4 separate regions of the Homo sapiens genome follow, and all the other regions are linked to region 1. Evidence: promoter capture Hi-C in 16 types of primary human blood cells and fetal thymus (Javierre and others, 2016). All regions are on one chromosome and are shown on one strand. Each heading gives the region's core, a stretch centred on a gene start or on the middle of the fragment in contact. The rest is flanking DNA. Distances are from core to core; before and after follow the strand shown. Region 1 holds the start of H3-3A-DT (H3-3A divergent transcript). Region 2 overlaps ENAH (ENAH actin regulator). Region 3 overlaps LBR (lamin B receptor). Region 4 has its middle 8.8 kb from the start of LBR.

Evidence for each region. The method cuts DNA at HindIII sites, captures the fragments that hold promoters and counts their contacts. A CHiCAGO score of 5 or more calls a contact.
Region 2: a contact is called between a fragment that was not itself captured here and the fragment with the promoter of H3-3A-DT in region 1, in 9 of 17 cell types (non-activated CD4 T cells, naive B cells, neutrophils and 6 more). The highest score is 7.7, in non-activated CD4 T cells.
Region 3: a fragment that was not itself captured here is called in contact with the fragment with the promoter of H3-3A-DT in region 1 in 4 of 17 cell types (neutrophils, total CD8 T cells, fetal thymus and 1 more); the score reaches 10.5 in neutrophils.
Region 4: a fragment that was not itself captured here is called in contact with the fragment with the promoter of H3-3A-DT in region 1 in 10 of 17 cell types (total CD8 T cells, fetal thymus, activated CD4 T cells and 7 more); the score reaches 10.2 in total CD8 T cells.

Annotation. Positions count from the first base shown.
Region 1 is chr1:226,060,749-226,063,832 of GRCh38, reverse strand. H3-3A-DT (H3-3A divergent transcript) reads left to right here and starts at 1,338. Exons shown (of 2, transcript NR_185887.1): 1 at 1,338-2,843. It overlaps H3-3A (H3.3 histone A), which reads right to left and starts at 1,117. Exons shown (of 4, transcript NM_002107.7): 1 at 1,022-1,117. RefSeq lists silencers at 709-778, 1,397-1,562, 1,149-1,998. The HindIII fragment of the contact is 4,693 bases long and covers 565-3,084 here.
Region 2 is chr1:225,489,200-225,492,267 of GRCh38, reverse strand. ENAH (ENAH actin regulator) reads left to right here. Exons shown (of 14, transcript NM_018212.6): 14 at 1-3,068. Among named protein-coding and RNA genes, the nearest start is that of LINC02765, 23 kb to the right of the region's middle. The HindIII fragment of the contact is 2,064 bases long and covers 228-2,291 here.
Region 3 is chr1:225,417,066-225,420,399 of GRCh38, reverse strand. LBR (lamin B receptor) reads left to right here. Exons shown (of 14, transcript NM_002296.4): 4 at 602-685; 5 at 948-1,137; 6 at 2,220-2,416. Among named protein-coding and RNA genes, the nearest start is that of LBR, 9.3 kb to the left of the region's middle. The HindIII fragment of the contact is 3,091 bases long and covers 1-2,926 here.
Region 4 is chr1:225,435,162-225,438,418 of GRCh38, reverse strand. No RefSeq gene overlaps it. Among named protein-coding and RNA genes, the nearest start is that of LBR, 8.8 kb to the right of the region's middle. RefSeq lists enhancers at 2,210-2,369, 2,440-2,489. The HindIII fragment of the contact is 6,515 bases long and covers 1-3,257 here.

The sequences.
Region 1 (3,084 bases), core at 89-2,588:
TTATGTTGACAAAAAGGCGTCTCGAAAAAACAAGAGAGGAACAACAGCTACCACCAGCGAGCATTCTACAAAGCCCCGTCCTCGCGTCCAGTCCTCACAGGCTTCGCAGTGAAATAAAAAGTGCCCCGCACCCAGGCTTTAATTAACGCACGACATCCGCCGACCGGTCCACCCCAAGCACCACATAAACTTTTGGTTTTGCCTCCTTCGGGTCCCTCGGCACAGGGTCCCCCAACCTGCCCGCCTCGCTCCCAGCGCCTCGAGCAGGAACCAACTCGGCTCCCCGACCAGAACAAAATGGAAACAATCGCAAAACGTATCCGATTCCGTTCCAAAGAGACAAAACACCAAATCGCTCGAAAATACCCCTATCCCCTGCCACGTGCCGCCCTCCAAAATGCAAAAGTTTTTTTTGCATTTCAAATGCATCAAGTTTCCGCCTCTCCAAAAAAGGGAAAAAAACGTCCCTCTTTTAAAAATTCTTGCTTTTTTGAAATGGGGAAGAGAGAAACGGGGGAAAAAATATGGTCGGTGACCAGAGAAGAGAGACAAGATGGTGAAGCTTAGCAACAACTGTGGGGAGGCAGCAAAAAGCGAGTTACCCCAGGGTGCGAAGCGGCGGCGATTTCCACCCCTTTCCCGCTCGAAAACTGGGGGCTGGGGCCCGGGGGCGGTAGTTAAGAGGCCCGCGCGGGTCATGGTGAAGGTTTGGGGTCCGGGGAAGGGGCGGCGGGCGGGATTTCACCGAAGAAAGAGGAGCCAGGGGCGCGGGGAGGAGGAGGGAGAGCAGGCTCGGCGCCGCGGCGGTTGCTGCTGTTGGGCTGAGGCGGCGAGAGACGGGGGAGCCGCCGCCGCCAGAGGGAACAGGGAAACTCGCTCCTCACCTCCATTTCTGGGCCAAAAAGTTTGTGGGCTAAGCCGGAGGGGCTATGGGTCCCCTCCCGGCACCGCCAGGGCCCGGCTCGGGGCTGACGGCAAGCGGGGCTCGGTTCCGGGGAAGCGGGCAGACGGGGAAACTTACCCCCCTTCTCCTTCGGCTGGAGCTCGGCGAGCGAGAGGCGGCGCTGGCGTTGGAGAGCGACGGCGGCGCGGCGGCGGCTGCGAACACAATTGAAAGATGGCTGACACCGAGGCTATCCCCCAACACACGCCGCCCCGCCCCCGCGCCGCGCGCCAGCCAATCACACACAATGGAGGGAAGGCTCGGCCCCGCCCCCATAGCTCCTCTCGCGCCCCGCCCCCGCCCTTCCCCCCGCGCGCCCGTTCGCTGGCGCGCGCTCGCCCCTCCCCCGCGCGCCGCCCGCTCCCTCCTCCAGGCCGCCTCGCGCCGTGTGTGTACAAACACAAAAGACACGCTGAGGGGCCGCCGGCTCCCGCCGAGACTGCCGCCCGCACCCGGCCAGCCCCCGCCCCCGGCCCTGCACTCCCATCCCGCTCCGTGTGCGCACGGCGTCGAACCCCCGAAGCCCGGGTTTGGGGCGCCCGGAGGGAAGTGGGGGGAGGGGAAGGCGGGCGGAGGCGCGGCGGGTGAACGCCCGGCCTGCGGGCGTCTCGGGCCGCGGCGGGGAGGGGAGGGAGGGGCTGCCCCCGCGCGGGCCCCGGCGCGCGCCCCCGAGGAGACCCGGGCGGCAGTGGGGGAGGAGGACGCGGTCGGCCGGGTCGCCGCGCCCCATTGGAAAACGCTCCCCAGCAGGAAGCTGGCAAATAGGAATCCAGCGTCCCGCGCCCGCTGTCGGACCTGGCCGCTGCGGCAGCGGGAGGGGCGGACCGACGGCCTCCTTCCCGCCTGCGCGCTCGGCCAAGTGCGGCCGGGTCCTGCGGGACCGGCCCGAGTCCGCCGTAGACAACTTGATCCGCTAAGACTCCTGGGCCGGCCGCCTGCGTGCAGGGCAGCCCCTCGCCGGTGTTGGCCTCCGGGATCAGGGGACGGGGCTCGCTCTCCTCCCGGGCCCGGGCCCCCGACGCAAGATGGCTGTGTCGCGTCGGCCTCTAAACAATGTGTGGAGCGCGCAGCTCCTGCACCAGGGCCTGGTGGCTTGTCCTGCCCGCCCGTGGGGGCCGTGTGATCTGTTTTCGGTAGGATTGCTTTGGAAAGGAATTGCCGAATATAGATAGTCAAATGTCCGCAGCTTCTGCATAGTTTAGAAGAGGCTGAAAACGGCAGAAAGAAGGCAAACGTGGTTTGGGAATTAGTACATATACCTGTTTTCCAATTCTCAGTAGCATAGGAAACGGACTTTTCATGGCCCAAGTTATCCTCACGACTTGTCAGTTGATTGGCTTTGGAACCTCTGAACCGTCCCTAGATGGTATTGACGCTTCACAACTGTGTGTAAAGGTTTTCAATGGAAGGGTCATGCAAATATCCCGTAGGGTAGTGAAGGAGGAAAATTTCATAAATGAAGGGCAGTAATTATTTGTAATCTGAAGATCTCACAAAGCGGCTTAGTGATAAACATTATCCCGAAACAGATACATGGAAATCAGATACGAGGGAAGAAATGGATTTGTCCAAGGTCACTTAAGTGAGGAAGAGACCTAGGAGAAACAAACAGACAAAAATCCAGGCCTCCCGTTTCATTATTATTTCATGAATGTTAAGTGTCCATGGTTGCTGTGCAGAACACATGCAATCTCTAATCCTATCCTAAAAGCACATATGCAATCAGCTTGGACCGAGCTGCCAGCAAAGAATTTCCTATAATTCAAGCCAAGATGAGTTATTTTGCTTGTTTTTTGTTTTGTTTTCAGGAAACCGAAATATTTATTGTTGGATTTATCCAGGAAGGCTGTTCTGCATTAGTTAAATGCATCATATCTTCAAGAAATGTTAAATGACATGGGTAATGTTTTCTTTGTATGCTGGATTTTTCAATAGCTTCTACTTCTTGGCTTTAAAAAATATTTCTAACCAAGGGTCAGACCATTTTAGGTAGAGTAATTATGATCTTAGATGATTTGAACTAACTCAGCTGTCTGTCCATTTGTGAAATGGGAATAATAATATTTATCTCTATGAAGTTAGGCCACAAATTCTTTCTAGTAGGTTCAAGTATTTAAGCACCTGGAGAGGTGACTGGTTAC
Region 2 (3,068 bases), core at 10-2,509, 570 kb after region 1:
AAAAATTTAAAAATTTAGGCCAGGCATGGTGGTGCACACCTGTAATCCCAGCTACTCAGGAGACTGAAGCGGGAGGATCACCTGAGCCCAGGGAGGACGCGGCTGCAGTGAGCCGTTATCATGCCACTGTACTCCAGCCTGGGTGACAGAGCGAGAACCTGTCTCTAAAAAAAAAAAAAAAAAATTCTAAGAGAATATAGCTTTTCATAGAAATTATTAGAAAAGCTTACATATTTCATTAGAGAGCCCAGTTTGTTAGACTACATTTATTCCGTAAAAGTTCTATATACAAATGACAACCCATAGTTTATCATGTAAATCTGATTTAACTGTTCCCTTCAATTCCAAGAAAGATTTCTTCAGCAGTAGATGACAATTCTAAAAGCATAAAGAAATAACTAATAAAGGAGATGGATGATGTTATAGGTTGGTTTGGTTGGGTTTTAGTAAATAGTTATTCTTCTAAGAAGGCTTAGAAAATCGAGAATTGAATAGTTGGTACTTTGAATTCCATAGGAAAAAGCACTCAGAAGAAAAAGTCTACATTGGCTAGTGTTTAGATTGAGAGTTAATTTTCCCATCAAGTCCAAAAGTTTCCATCCAAGTCTATAGAAACTGAGAGAAAAGGTTCTTGGCTTACACTTAAAATACACATTGTTGCAACCATATAAGAGAGATACATTACAGAACGCTTTTAAAAATTTGGTCTCTTAAGCGCCTAACAGTCCATGCTTTAGTCACATCTGTGAAACCTCTTTTCTTTTTTTCTTTTTCTTTTATTTTTTTTTTTAAAGATTAAAGGCATTTTAAAAATAAATGTTTCATGGCCGGGCATGGTGGCTCACGCCTGTAATCCCAGCACTTTGGGAGGCTGAGGTGGGCAGATCACCTGAGGTCAGGAGTTTGAGACCAGCCTGGCCAACATGATGAAACCCCATCTCTACTAAAAATACAAAAAAATTGGCTGGGCATAGTGGTGGGCACCTGTAATCCCAGCTCTTCGGGAGGCTGAGACAGAAGAGTCGCTTGAATCCAGGAGGTGGAGGTTGCAGTGAGCTAAGACCGCGCCACTGTACTCCAGCCTGGGCGACAGAGCGAGATTCCATCTCTAAATAAATAAATGTTTTTCAACGTGTTTTATGTGAGAAATACCAGCTTTTCATTATTACTACCAGTTGATCTCAGGTGTCACTTGGTTGGTTCTGCTGACCGAGGCACTGGGCATTTTAAATATGGAGTTTCCCTCCACCCATTGATCAAGTCTGAGGTTTGTCCATCCTTGGTGGCAGGCTAGCTTAACCATGGATTCACAAACCCCATTTGATTGTCGTAAGTCATAAGGCCACCCCAGTGCCAGTGGTTGGGCATCACAGTGAGTCTGAGGTGATGAATTTGAGTTAGCTGTAGGCTAGTTCCGCAACTCAGCAATAGCCCATGGATGGTTGGTAAAAGACGTTGACTTTGCCACTTAAATTTCCAGGAGAAGAATAGCTTATAGTTTATCTGAGGAAAGTAATTGGGAAGGCTTAGATATTGAGAAGAAAGCCCTGTTAAAATCTAGGTAGCATTTCCTTTCTTCTTTATTACTAGAGGGATGGGAGGTTCAGGCCTGAGTCAGGACTTTACAATTTGGTGTCCTTCCCAGAGGTACTTTGGGCTTGATCATTTTAAGTTTCAATTGCAAAAAAAAATTTTTGACGGAGTGTTGCTCTGTCACTCAGGTTGGAGTGCAGTGGTGCGATCTCGGCTCACTGCAACTTCCCCCCCCTGGGTTCAAAGGGATTTTCCTGCCTCAGCCTCCCAAGTAGCTGGGACTACAGGCGCGTGCCACCATGCCCGACTAATTTTTGTATTTTTAGTAGAGATGGGGTTTCACCATGTTGCCCAGGCTGGTCTTGAACTCCTGAGCTCAGGTGATCTGCCCGCCTCGGCCTTCAATTGCAGAAGTTTTTGAAGGGAGAATATTTGATCCTCACATAAAATGTCCTTGTTTCTGAAAGAAAACATGGTAAAAATTGTTATTGAGTCCATGTCTTTGCCACCTTGTTGGACTTGATTTCCCTTTCTCTGTGTTCCTCCCGCCCTCAGTCTCTCTCAGTCTGTCCTTTTTTGTGTGTGGAGTTGTGGGCAGGTCATTGGACTGGGACTGACTTTACCAGTTTTCAGGCTGTGGGGCTAGTCAGTCATTCTCTCTGAGCCTTCTACCTCTAAAGTTGAGTTCTTTTTTTAAATTCTTTTTGTTTTGTTTTTATTTTTTCCTTGCCACTATACAAGCAAGGATAGATAAAGCTTTTTATTATTATTGTTATTATTATTATTTCGAGACAGTCTCGCTCTGTCATCCAGGCTGGAGTGCAGTGGTGTGATTTCAGCTCACTGCAACCTCTGCCTCCCGGGTTCAAGCGATTCTCCTACCTCAGCCTCCTTAGTAGCTGGGACTACAGGCATGCGCCACCACACCCGGCTAATTTTTGTATTTTTAGTAGAGACAGGGTTTCACCGTATTGGCCAGGCTGGTCTCGAACTCCTGACCTCAGGTGATCCACCCACCTTGGCCTCCCAAAGTGTTGGGATTACAGGCATAAGCGACCGTGCCCATCCCCGATAAAGTTGAGTTCTGAATTTCCTCTTTCACTGTATTCTCGGCAGCTACTGGTTGGTTTATTCTTTTTTTTTAATCTTTTTTGGTTTATTCTTCTTTTGATCTTTGAAGAGAAGGAGAAAAAAGATCTGAGTTTGGCTCTCCCATCTTAAGTGCAGCTTTTAGTTGTTTTATAGTCATAGACGCTATTGCACTGGACAGCATGCATCCTGGATGTAAACAATGCGGAAAAATCAATGGAGTGACCATCTTGGGGTCAGTGGTGTTGCATAAAGCACCAGTGGTGTGCTGTTCTGTGTCAGTTTCCTCTGCGCCACGTGCTTTCACAGTTTGAATTACCAGCATCTCTGTGGTGGCTTCAGTACATTCTCCATTGTGCTTCAACCTGGAAGCACATTCTGCCGTTCAGAAAGACTGATTCCAATCATGTAATGGGACCACACGAGATCCATGCTCCAATTATATG
Region 3 (3,334 bases), core at 132-2,631, 640 kb after region 1:
CTTTCATAGTAAATACCCCTAAAATCTATCAATGAAATTATGACATTCAGTCTGATTACGTGAAAGATCAAAGTTGTTTTTTTTTTTTTTGAGGCGGAGTTTCATTCTTGTTGCCCAGGCTGGAGTGCAATGGCGCGGTCTTGGCTCAATGCAACCTCCGTCTCCGGGTTCAAGAGATTTTCCTGCCTCAGCTTCCGAAGTAGCTGGAATTACAGGTGCCCGCTACCGTGCGTGGCTAATTTTTTTGTATTTTTAGTAGAGACAGGGTTTCACCATGTTGGCCAGGCTGGTCTTGAACTCCTGACCTCAGGTGATCCACCCGCCTTGGCCTCCCAAAGTGCTGGGATTACAGGTGTGAGCCACCGTGCCTGGCCAGATGAAAGATTTTATGTAGAAATCTATCCAATATTTCAGAGACTGGGAAATTCTAGTCAGTTTTATTCCTTTTCATTTTTAACAAAATGAGGGTTAAATTCGTCAGAATTAAGGCTGTGAAAAATCTGTTTTATTGCTTGATTCCAAAACAGTAAGTTTTTACCATCATGTTTCTTTTTAATAAGTTACAGTTCTTTTGATTAAATGTTTATATTCTTCAATTTAGAAGCCATTTGGAAATAGCATCAGCAGATATAATGGGGAGCCTGAGCATATTGAGAGAAATGACGCACCTCATAAAAATACACAGGTGGGAAAGTGTTCCCTTTCATCTTGGTTGTTTTTTTTTTTCTTTTTTTTGGTTAAAAGTGACTCTCCCTTGAGAAGCACATTGAAAATTGTAATATTTTATAACCTGTTCTAAAATTCTGTCCTTAAATTAAGACTGAATATAATTTCACAAATTTATTCTTACTAGTGTATAGCTGTATTGAGATGCTGAAATAGTTAATGCAGTAGCATTAATGGTAATTGTTCACTGCAGATATTTAATTTTTAAATTTTTCATTTAGGAAAAATTCAGTTTGTCACAAGAAAGCAGTTACATAGCAACACAGTATAGCCTTCGTCCAAGAAGAGAAGAAGTCAAATTAAAAGAAATAGATTCTAAGGAAGAAAAATACGTTGCAAAAGAACTGGCAGTGAGAACCTTTGAAGTGACCCCCATCCGGGCAAAGGACTTGGAGTTTGGAGGAGTACCTGGTAGGCCTCAGAGCTGGGCCCAGAGAGGGCAGGTGGGGTGAGCTAGGGGTGGTTGCCACAAGGTGAACTGGAAAGGCCTCTCTGAAGACATCTGAGGCAGGCAAGGTAATGAGCCTGGTGGGAACCTGTGGAAGAGCCTTCCAGAGAAGGAACAGTGGGTGCAAAGGCTTGAGGTGGGAGCATTTTGAGGGATTATGGAGTAGAAAGGATGCCATTGTAGCTGTGTTTAAAACTTTTAGCAGTCTGTTCAGAGGTTTTGAGCACAGAAGTACAAAGAAGTGATAAAGGAAGGTTGATCTGGGAGTTTGTATAGCATAGATGGTTACTTATCAGGGACAGAGAGCTCTGCTAATAGTCAGACCTGAGGCGGCAGGGGCCAGCAGTGGGCCTCAGCTGCCTGCATAAAATGGGATCCCGGAGGCTGCCCTACCTGCTAGGCGGGTTGATTGTGAGGGTCAAAGATCTGAAGTGTGCAGAGTTTTGGAGTTACTAAGTGGGTGGAACTGATGAAATTTTATGAGCTAGTAAAAGAAAAGACTTCTTGTCTAAATGGCTCAAAATCCTGCATGGCTTAATTGCTTTGTATTTTGTTATAACCTTTGGCTAGCTGGCCTGTTACAGATGCTGTCCAGCATCACTTAAAATCTGCACACATTACATGAACGTGACACTATTTTAATTGTTAGAAACTGAGGAATATAAAGTTTTTTGTTAAGATTAGGCTGATAATTTTTAGATGTTCTGATCTTCAGTTTGCTGGAGTTTCAACACATTCGCTCCTTAGTGGTTGGAGGTCAAATGTTTTAGAGCTTGGTTTCTGAGGTGGGTGTAGCTATTCAATGTTGGACCTCTTTCTTTTTTTTTTTATTTTTATTTATTTATTTTTTTTACTACTTTGATGCCCATGGTTGCCAGGCCACCAGAGGTGACAGGTAGAGATGGGAGTTTTTGATGGTACATTAGAAATTGGTTTCAGACAGTTAGCCAGATAACGAGTTCTGATCTTAACAAATCTAACATGATTCTTAAATAAATAAACCAGATTGAAATTTGAGCCTCGAATGTTCATGAATTGTTTGCAGGTGTGTTTCTCATCATGTTTGGCCTGCCTGTGTTCCTCTTCCTGTTGCTGTTGATGTGTAAACAGAAAGATCCCAGTCTTCTGAATTTCCCTCCTCCTTTGCCAGCTTTGTATGAGTTATGGGAAACCAGAGTATTTGGGGTCTACCTCCTGTGGTTTTTGATTCAAGTCCTGTTCTACCTACTGCCAATTGGAAAGGTACGTTTATGGTAATTCTGTTTTGTTTTAATAAGATGAGGTCTCACTATATTGTCCAGGCGGGTCTCCAATTTCTGGGATCAAGTGATCCTCTTGCCGCAGCCTCCTGAGTCGCTGGGACCACAGGCCTGTGCCATGCTGCCCAGCCTTAGAGTAGTTTAAAGGTTAAAGGCTGTTGTTGGTCATAATTCCCAAAACTTAGTTCATGAAGCCATTTCTCTTGTGCTGTCTGTATAACACTTGCTTATTAGGAGGAACTTAAAAAAAAATCTGATTGAGATTTCTTGTGTAACTTTTCAAACCAAATAGAAAAGAATAGGCTATTTTGCAAAGTAGCCGACTCTCAGTGGAGGTTGCTATGGAAAAAAAATTCACTCTTAGTATGTGTCATTTCAGATGCAGCATTTTAAATGATTAATTGATAGGCTACTGGGCTCGATGGACTTTAGTCTACATCTTTTACTTTAAAAAAGTATGAAAAGTTTCTAATTTTCATCTCTTTCAGAAGCTTGTTGTCAAGAACATTTTACGTTGTTTTCAGATTCCTGCAATATCTTTAAAATTTGTCTCTCCATTGCTAAGTGTAGTTTTTTCTTCTTTCAGTAGAATCCTTTACTTGGATATATTTAAAGAAACATGAGATTCCCTAAGTAATAAATAATTTATTTAAAGATCTTATTCTTAGGGCTTTGCAAGTTTGCCAACTGTCTGTAAACCAAAGGATCGGTTTTACTGGTGAATGCCAGTGATAGGAGGGTAGAGCTGCAGGCTTAATACTGTGGAGTGAGACCATAACTTTAGTGGCTCTAGCAAGGATTTTTGTGATAAAGACCTTCAGTCATTTCTACAGTAAGCCTCTACAGTTAAATTCAGATTCATTTAGGGTAAGGTGATTTCAGAGTATCAAGGAAAGCAGTT
Region 4 (3,257 bases), core at 139-2,638, 630 kb after region 1:
TTATGATTTGAAAACCTTAAGAAGGGAGCGATATCCTGTTAAATTCATGTTCAGTGCTGAAGAATTTTTTCCAGAAGCTCATACATTATCCAGCAGGCACAAGGACAGCTGAAGTATGTTTAAGGATATGGCACTTCTTTTTAAAAATGAACACAAAGGGATCTGACTAGCCTGCCTTGGCCAGGAGGAGGAGCCCCCTTCTGGCAGGCCTAGCAAAGGAGATGTGGGAACTGGGCATCTTTCCTTCTGGTCAGGATGGGAGTTCTGGCCTTGACTTACGGAGCAATAGGAGTTCTCTATAGGACCAGGAAGATGAATACACAAAACATCAGTAAAAGTAAAATAGAAAAAAGAAGTAGAACTTTTTTTTAAAAAGGGAGGAACTATATATTTGCAGAAATGACATTTTTGAATAACAGAATAACACAGACCAGGTAATTTATAATGAACAGCACTAAATGCCTGCCTCTGGTGAGGGCCTTCTTGCTGTGTCACTCCATGGCCAGAAGGTGGAAGGGCCAAGAGATGAAAGGGGGCTGACCCTGCCCTTTTATAATGGCAGTAATGCCGCCCATGAGGGTGCAGCCCTCATGGCCTGATCACCTCTTAAAGGTCCCACCTCTCAACATTGTTACGATGCCAACTAAATTTCAAATGAATTTTGGCGAAGACAAACATTCAAACCATAGGACTAAGTAAATAAAAACCATATCTGTATAGTCAAATAGGATTAAAGTAGACCTAAAAATGGCATTGTGTTTGGCAATATGACTTACCGTGGAGAATGACTGGGAACTGTCAATTCAGAGTAACATGACTTGCTTTGCTACAGCAGTGAAATTTCTGGGATCCTAGCCTCTTGTATCTAAAGTAAGCAAGCAAAATATCATCAGCAACTTAGTATGAATATATAGTTTTTTTCTGCTGAAATACTCATGCCAATTAATACTTACAGTTGTTGAATAACTATCAAGCCAACTCTGTACAACTTTCAAATAAATCTACGTTGCAATTATATGTCATCTGTTTAAAAGGATAAAATATTGATATTTTTAGTCATTTATGTAGGTGTGTGTTATGACTAAAATGATTCAATACACTACTGTGCTCCAAATAGGTTTTATGTTGTACCTCTTGCTCAAGTAAAATGAAAAAATTTAAAACAATTATGCAAATTTGGTTTTAAATATTCATCTCAAATATTTTATATTTTATTCCCCTTAAATGTGTTTTAAACAGATTTAATCACATTGGGTACTGTACTAAGTGTACTACAAAGATTACAGTGATCCTGCCCTTGATATCATACCTACAAGTGAATATTCTAAGATAGTCCCTGGAAAGGAAGACATAAAGACAGTCCTACAGAATCCAGAATAGGTATCAGAATTAAAATAGACCAGCCATGGAAGAAAGAATCAAAGGGTGAGAGACAAGGACAAGTTCACATGCATGGTGCTCTTTGAGAGAGCAGGGATGAGTGTTCTTTGCTCCAGAAATGTAGACAAAACGCCCACAAGCTATATTCTCATTAGCCTGGGATGTCTCCAGCTGACATTGACAGTGGGATCATGTAATATGAATTGTGTGTGGCGACCGGAAGTCAATGGCTAAGGGAGCTAAGAGGCTGCTTGGGGACCCTAATGGGTTTGGAGGGTAGAAAGAACATATGCTTTGGAATCCAGAGAACTGGGTTAGAATTTCTTTTCCAGCCCCAATTTGGTGGGTGCGCTGTATTGCAACTTTGCTGACCTGAGTCTCAGTTTCCTCGTCCTGAAAGAGGGGGTGATGCCTATTTTGTTGAGTTGATTTGAGCCATAAATAAGGTAAGGACTGGTAAGTGACACAGAACAGGGCCTCATTAGAAATGAGTCCCCTTCCCTCTCCTTCTCTTTCTCCATTGTTCTGATGCCAACTGTAGTTGCTACACACTTTTCCTAAAGGGTATGGTGTAGTTTTGTTGATAGAGTGGGAGCAATTGCTGAACAGACATGAAGTGCTAAACATTAACACTGATGGGCTGAGCCTTATCTTGTCCAGAAGGGAAGCAACATGGTAATTACATGTTACCTAGATGGTACTTTCTGTTCCACAATTGAGCCCCCGTCTGCCTCTGAATGTAGACTTTGGGTGGGAGGTGGGGAAGAAGGCTGCCCTCTGGGACTCGCAGTTTTAGCAACCATGCCAAAACAAGCCATGCACCTGTGTTCCCTGTAGGTTTTAAAAAGAAACATTTAGTTACATATTCTGAATTAAGAGAGATGGTGGCAACCCAGGTGGAGAAAAGGGTATTTAAGCACAGCAGAGTCCCCACCATGGGGCTGTGAGCCTGTGGCAGACAGCAAGAGAGACACCGAAGATAGGCTTCCGCACCTCTCCAGCCGGTGGGAACAGTCAGTGCCAGCGGAGGCTTTATCTCTTCTTGCCTCAGTCCAGCCTGTGGCAGCTCAGTAACTGGAACAAGAGCGTTTACTACCTTCTGACCTTTAGGAGAACATATATGACACAGTTTCATGATGAACACATTCATTTACTTAATGGGGAGAGATACAAGGAGAAATTAAATATACTTCCTGCCTGGGAGGAGTGCAGATGCCCATAACATGGGAAGGCAGTGACAGATGTATGTGGGGACTGCCCTAGGAAGTTTTGCTGGGGATGAGCAAGAACAGGCCACTCTCAAAAGAAGGGGGAGGCATTCCAAGCAACAAGAGAGGAAAAGGCTTATCTGAGGACTCATCAGAAATTTGGTAGAACTGAGGGTGGAGGGGGTGGGAAAGAGAAGGCAGGTGCTGGAAAGAGAAGAGGATGTTGAGCCTACCAGAAATCCATTAGGGTGAGTTTTTGAAGGCCTTGTCTGTGTCATGTTACTAAGTTTGATTTTTTTTTCCTGCAGATAAATATTTCAGGACTCTCTACCTATCCAAACGCATTTTAGGCGAATTTTAAAAAACAGTTATTAATTAGCAAACATTAAAATAAATGTGAATAATAATCACTTCCTGAACAGTCCAAGGACCTTTAAGTTTTAAGATTAATCCAGCGGGTTAGATTTTTCAGTTAGAGTAGCATGGAAGAAAAGACGAAGTTACGTCTTTTATGTTGAAGTGTGCACTACAGGATGATTCAAAGGATTTAGGCGGTTAGAGAAAAAACAACAAACGCATTAAAACATTATTGACACATCTGCTACTGAAAACACTCTTTCATCTATTTATAGTTGACTAAAAATGGTGACTTAACGAACTTGAAATAAA